Regions from separate parts of the Homo sapiens genome. Here region 2 is linked to region 1. The links are contacts of gene promoters, found by promoter capture Hi-C in human tissues and cell types (Jung and others, 2019). All regions are on one chromosome and are shown on one strand. The core of a region is centred on a gene start or on the middle of the fragment in contact, and the rest is flanking DNA. Distances in the headings are between cores, read along the strand shown.

What was found. Contacts are between HindIII fragments. The study calls those that stand out against the background at their distance.
Region 2: a fragment that was not itself captured here is called in contact with the fragment with the promoter of GPATCH3 in region 1 in 1 of the 25 tissues and cell types used here (thymus).

What each region holds. Positions count from the first base shown.
Region 1 is chr1:26,898,892-26,902,046 of GRCh38, reverse strand. GPATCH3 (G-patch domain containing 3) reads left to right here and starts at 1,580. Exons shown (of 7, transcript NM_022078.3): 1 at 1,580-2,055. The coding sequence starts at 1,605. It also overlaps a transcript of NUDC not described here. RefSeq lists an enhancer at 1,516-1,635. The HindIII fragment of the contact is 3,671 bases long and covers 1-2,972 here.
Region 2 is chr1:26,941,748-26,945,320 of GRCh38, reverse strand. NUDC (nuclear distribution C, dynein complex regulator) reads right to left here. Exons shown (of 9, transcript NM_006600.4): 4 at 3,503-3,568; 5 at 2,545-2,661; 6 at 2,256-2,450. Among named protein-coding and RNA genes, the nearest start is that of KDF1, 17 kb to the left of the region's middle. The HindIII fragment of the contact is 5,756 bases long and covers 1-3,573 here.

The DNA of each region.
Region 1 (3,155 bases), core at 331-2,830:
GTTTTCCAGGATCACAGGGCTTGGGTAAAAGTCAACATTATCAATAAGTCTTCTGATAAACATGTGCAGTCATTTTTTTTATTGTTTAGACAAGGGTCTTGCCAACTTGGCCAGGCTGGTCTCAAACTTCTAAGCTCAAGGGATCCTCCTACACCAGCTTGCCAAAGTGCTGGGATTACAGGCGTGAACCACTGAGCTTGGCCCTTTATTTTTTGCTTTTGTTTGAGGTCTCTCAATCTACAGGTTCCTCCTATCACCCAGTATAATGTGTAGACTTTGTCTGAATTATGAATCAATGAATCAATAGTAATCAAATAACCCAATTAAAAAACGTACAAAGAGGGCCGGGTGCGGTGGCTTACATCTGTAATCTCAGCACTTTGGGAGGCCAAGGCGGGTGGATCACCTGAGGTCAGGAGTTCGAGACCAGCCTGACCAATATGGTGAAACCCCGTCTCTACTAAAAATACAAAAATTAGCCGGGCGTGGTGGCACGCACCTGTAGTCCCAGCTACTCGGGAGGCTGAGACAGGAGAATTGCTTGAACCCGGGAGGCGGAGGTTGCAGTGAGCCGAGATCGCACCATTGCACTCCAGCCTGGATGACAGAGCGAGGCTCCATCTCAAAAAAAAAAAAAAAAAAAAAAAAAGACAAAAAGGCGGGGACCGTGGCTCACACCTGTAATCCTAACACTTTGGGAGGCTGAGGCCAGTGGATCACTTGAGCCCTGGAGTTCAATACCAGCCTGGGCAATGCAGTGAGACCCCATCTCTACAAATAGTTTAAAAAATTAGCCAGGCATAGTGGGTTGCATCTGTGGTCCCAGCACTCCAGCCTGGGCGACAGAGCGAGACCCCAACTCAAAAATAAATAAAATATTACCTACAAGTGCTGAGTCAAATGATGTGTAGCTTTGCTTTTACTAGATAACGCCAATTGTTTCCCAAAGTGGTTGTATCAACTTACATTTCCACCAACAGTGTATGAGAGCTTCAGTTCCACCATGTTGTCATCGACTCTAAGGTTTTAAAGTTTGCCAACATAGTGGATGCAAAGTGGGTCTCGCTGCATTTCTTTTATTATTGAGTTGTGCATCTTTTCTTTAACGTAAGCCTCTAGTAACTCATAGCACTTTCATTGTAAATTGGACCTGCGTGTTTCCTCTTTTGCGAAGTATCTTCGGCCCATTTTTCTACCGGGTTATCTTTTTCTTACCGATTTGTGGGAGTTCATCAACACATTTTGGAAAAATAAATGGAAGAACGACTAAAGGTTCAGAACTGAGGAAGGTTGAGATTAGGTGTGCAATATCCACAACTAAATACCTCAAAAATGACCCCTCCCGCAGGCTTCTTATTTGGTCCTCATGAGAGCTTTATGAAAGAACTCTATGACCCCATTTTCCAGGTGAGTTTTTCCATCATCGCCGGCTTCCCTCTGTGGGAAAGGAACACAGAAGACTTCGGATCTTCCAGCTCCAGGTTCCACAACCCCAATCCCAAAGGACTAGTTAGAATTTTCACAATCTCGCAACGCAGGGGCTGGAACGTTGCTCGCGGTGTTCTCGCGAGACTTGGTTCTAGCTGATCATGTGACAATCCAAGATGGCGGTGCCCGGCGAGGCGGAGGAGGAGGCGACAGTTTACCTGGTAGTGAGCGGTATCCCCTCCGTGTTGCGCTCGGCCCATTTACGGAGCTATTTTAGCCAGTTCCGAGAAGAGCGCGGCGGTGGCTTCCTCTGTTTCCACTACCGGCATCGGCCTGAGCGGGCCCCTCCGCAGGCCGCTCCTAACTCTGCCCTAATTCCTACCGACCCAGCCGCTGAGGGCCAGCTTCTCTCTCAGACTTCGGCCACCGATGTCCGGCCTCTCTCCACTCGAGACTCTACTCCAATCCAGACCCGCACCTGCTGCTGCGTCATCTCGGTAAGGGGGTTGGCTCAAGCTCAGAGGCTTATTCGCATGTACTCGGGCCGCCGGTGGCTGGATTCTCACGGGACTTGGCTACCGGGTCGCTGTCTCATCCGCAGACTTCGGCTACCTACGGAGGCATCAGGTAAGAGTGAGAAAGTTAATAGACTGGGCCTACGGGCCTGGAACAGAGGCACCTTTTCAGAGGAGTGGTGAGGATAAGTCAGGCCTCTGGTTAGGACTCTATGAGTTTAGTTCATATTCTAGACAGAGCTTCAGGCTCAACTTGCAGGGAGTTAGTCCAATACATGGAGAAAAATAAACCGGAGAGGCTTATTCGGAAGAGCCTTCATTTTGTTAGGTCCCTTTTGAGACCCTTTCTCTATCCAAGGGGTTGATTTTGCACTAACACAGAAAGAAAAAAGGAAATCCAGTCTCTAACCCTTTTACTGTCTTTCTCTCCTGCTCTCTCTGTGCTTCCTACCCAGTCCTTTCAGTAAGATACAAATGAAGAGACAATCTTTTCTCTGGACAGCTCCCACTTTCATGGGAAATCAGTTTGATGGGGAAACAGGACAGTGCAGAGCCCTCCAGTTCACACATTCAACAAATGCTTACATTGCTAGACCTAGTGTGACTAGCTGGGTATGCAGAGAACAGTTGGACATAGTGTGTGCTCAGAATCCACAAAGGAAGACATTTGGAAAAAGGTTATTGCCACAGAGATGTCATTCTAATTGTTAGCATTCACTGAGCACTCTGTATTTAGTAGGCGCTGTTCTAAGCCTTTTGTTTTCTTACCCCTCTCAACAGTCCTATGAGATAGGAGCTGTTGTTTCTCCCATTTCATAGGTGAAGAAACTGAGGGAAGCCGAAGTTATGTGACTTGCCTGAGGTTACAGAGTTAGTTAGTGTCAGAGCTACAACAAACCTAGGCATCTGTTCCAGAGCCTATACTGTTTATCACCAAGTGCTGTGAGATGACAGAGAAGGGAGAAACTAACTTCCTAGATGGATCATGAAATGTGGCTTTCCATCTGGGTCTTGAAAAATAAATAGGAGTTAATAGGAGAGAATGGTGTTTCTGGGTTTCAGGGTAAATGGCGTTTGCAAAGACACAGCTTTGAAAGCCCGTGAAAAACTTTCAGGGCATGTTAAATTGTTCATTGTGGGCTGGGTTGCAATGGCTCGTGCCTGTAATCCCAGCACTTTGGGAGGCACAGGTGGGTGGATCTCTTGAGCTCA
Region 2 (3,573 bases), core at 704-3,203, 43 kb before region 1:
TCACAACCAAACTCTCTCCCATCCACATCCTGCACCTGAGACCCTTGCAGGCCTACACTGGATCCAGAGGTACAAGACTGTGCCCTTCCTGCAGCTAGGGGAGACACAGAGGCAAAGAGTTACAAATCAGTGTGATAAGGGAAAGAAGAAAGCAGAAAGGGAGATATTCATCCAGGGTGGAGGGAGAAAAGTTTGAAAGTGACACTCGGGCTGAGTCTTAAGACACAAAGCAGTATTCCAGATTTAAAATGGGAAGAAAATAAATATATATATTTTTTGAGATGGAGTCTTGTTCTTCTTGTCCAGGCTGGAGTGCTGTGGCACCATCTCGGCTCACTGCAACCTCTGCCTCCCGGGTTCAAGCAATTCTCCGGCCTCAGCCTCCCGAGTAACTGGGATTATAGGCATGCACCACCACACCTGGCTAATTTTTGTATTTTTAGTAGAGACGGGGCTTCACCATATTGGGCCAGGCTGGTCTCAAACTCCTGACCTCAGATGATCTGCCTGCCTCAGTCTCCCAAAGTGTTGGGATTACAGGTGTGAGCCACCATGTGCAGTGGTGCAGTCAGCTCACTGCAACCTCCACCTCCTGGGTTCAAGCGATTCTCCTGCCTCAGACTCCCAAGTAGCTGGGATTACAGGCGCCCACCACCATGCCCAGCTAATTTTTTGTATTTTTATTAGAGATGGGGTTTGCCATCTTGGCCAGGCTGGTCTCAAACTCCTGACCTCGTGATCTGCCCACCTCAGCCTCCCAAAGCGCTAGGATTACAGGCATGAGCTACCACGCCCAGCCAGAAAAAGTTTTTAAGCAGGGAAGTGCCAGGTGCAGTGGCTCCTACCTGTAATCCCAACACTTTGGGAAGCCAAGGCAGGAAGATCCCTTGAGCCCAGGAGTTTCAGACCAGCCTGGGCAACATGAGACCCTGTCTTTACAAAAAACATTTAAAAATTAGCCAGGTAGGGTGGCGCTCGCAGTTACTCAGGAAGCTGAGGTGGGAGGGTCGTTTGAGCCCGGGAGGTCAAGGCTGCAGTAAGCCGTGATTGCGCCACTGCATTCCAGCCTGGGTGAGAACAAGACCCTGTCTCAAAAAATAAAAAATAAATTTAAAAGGCAGGGAAAGGGCTGGGCATGGTGGCTCACACCTGTAATCCCAGCACTTTGGGAGGCCGAGGTGGGCGGATCACAAGGTCAGGAGATCGAGACCATCCTGGCTAACACGGTGAAACCCTGTCTCTACTAAAAAATAGAAAACAAAACAGACAAAAAAAAAAATACAGGCATGGTGGCGGGCGCCTGTAGTCCCAGCTACACTGGAGGCTGAAGCAGGAGAATGGCATGAACCCAGGAGGCGGAGCTCGCAGTGAGCCGAGATCGCGCCACTGCACTCCAGCCTGGGCGACAAAGCAAGTGCAGAGGCATGGAGGGGTGAGTGAGTGAAGGCAGCCAGTGCCAGTCGGACAGGCTGTTACAGGGTCTTATGTGCCCTGGGAAGTTCTCCTCAGACCCTTGGCCCTTTTCAGACCACCTTTATTTACTGATCTCTGTGTCCTACCTCTCTGTAAAGGCAGTGAGGTTGAGAATGAAGGCTTCCTGAGGGCACATATTTTCCTATGTTTTGTTCACTGTTCTCTTTCCAGCACTTAGAACAAGAACAGTACCAGGCACAGAGCAGGTGTTCAAGTATTTGATGAATTGAATGCATGTACAAACCTAGTGAAAAAGAAGTGGCTTTAGAAACTAAGACTTTCAATTCTGACTCCACCCCTTCCCAGAGGTAGGAGCTTGGGTAAATCAACGAGCTCTTTTCCTGACTCAAGCCTGTAATCTCAGCACTTTGGGAGGCCAAGGTGTGAAGATCACTTGAGGCCAGGAGTTCAAGACCAGCCTGGGAAATATAGTGAGACCCCCCGGTCTCTACAAAAAAATTTAATAACAAAAATTAGCCGAGCGTGGTGGTGTACACCTGTAGTCTTAGCTACTCAGGAGGACGAGGCGAGAGAATTGCTTGGGCCCAAGGGTTCAAGGCTGCAGTGAGCTAAGAAGGTGTTACTGCACTTCAGCCTGGGCAACAGAGTGAGACCTTGTCTTTAAGAAAATAAAATAGAGACAGATCTACTTTAAAGAGTGTTGTCATGGGGATTAAGATAATCCCACAATGCCCCCAGCATGGCTCCTGAGTAAACTAAGCACACATCCTCCCTTCTACTTCCATCAACACCCCAGGCTAGAAGGGCTGGGCCTCACATACCTTCTCCAGATGCACAGTCACCACCTTGCCGTCCTCAATGAGCCACGAGCTCTCCTCCACCTTCACTTCATTGTAGAGCTCCCCATCAATGATCGCTGGCTGCCCCTTGAGCCCCACCCGGAGGTGCCGCCGCTGGATGTCCACCACCATGTCCTTCCCTTTCAGCCGGAAGTTCACACAGAAAGGGACCGCCAGCTGCATAGGGCAGAGGCAGTCAGAAGAGGCCACTAAGTGCTGCTGGTACCCCAGGCTGGCCCCCTAAGCTTTACCTCTGGTCCCTGACACTCACGTCCAGCTCCGACAGGGTCTGGGTCCAGCGGTAATTGGGCAGGTCTGCCCCGTTGCCTAGGTTGGGCTTCAGTTTTCCTTTGTCCTTCTCATCTTCCTCCTCATCTTCCTCAGTATCCTGCTTACAATCAGGGACACTCAGCTACTTACTTGACAGACAAGACACAGATTGAACCCTCACTGGGCCAAGCCCAGGGCTAGCACTGGGCATACAGCCACAAAAGAAAACAGACCTGGTCCCTGCCCACTCCACAGAGGGGCAGACCCCCAAGCCTTGGTCCACTGGGAACCAGGTAAAACTTGGTTCTGATCTCAGTCTGAGAGGAGCTCAGACTATTAATATTATACCATGTGACAAAGGATATGGCTGGGCCCACAGAACCCAGCCAACCTCAGATGGGACCTGTAATAGGCACTGCCCTCTCTGGCTATTGGGTTTTCTTGCCATAAACAGGTTAAGGTCAGTCGGTTTTTATTTTATTTTTTTGGGACGGAGTCTTGCTCTGTCGCCCAGGCTGGAGTGCAGTGGCGTGATCTCGGCTCATGGCAACCTCCGCCTCCCGGGTTCAAGCAATTCTCTGCCTCAGCCTCCCGAGTAGCTGGGATTACGGGCGCCCACCACCATGCCTGGCTAATTTTTGTATTTTTAGTAGAGATGGGGTTTCACCATCTTGGCCAAGTTGGTCTTGAACTCCAGACCTCGTGATTTACCCACCTCGGCCTCCCAAAGTGCTGGGATTACAGGTGTGAGCCACTGCGCCTGGCAGGTTTTTATTTTTTTAACCTGGATCCTTTGGTTCAATGTCTCTGAGTGTGATCTTAAAGTATGGGGAAGATTCCCAAAGCCAGGAGGGGAGGGGATAGGATAAGGAAGGGTATTCCAGAGAAAGCAGTAGGCAGGAGATTTCCTGTAAGTTCCAAGCTCCTGGCTCATCCCAAGTCCCTGCAGTCCATCTCACCTGCTTCCCTGGGGAGTCAAGGCTGCCGTTCTTGAGCTGGGCCTCATGATTCTCTGCATCCTTTTTCTGGG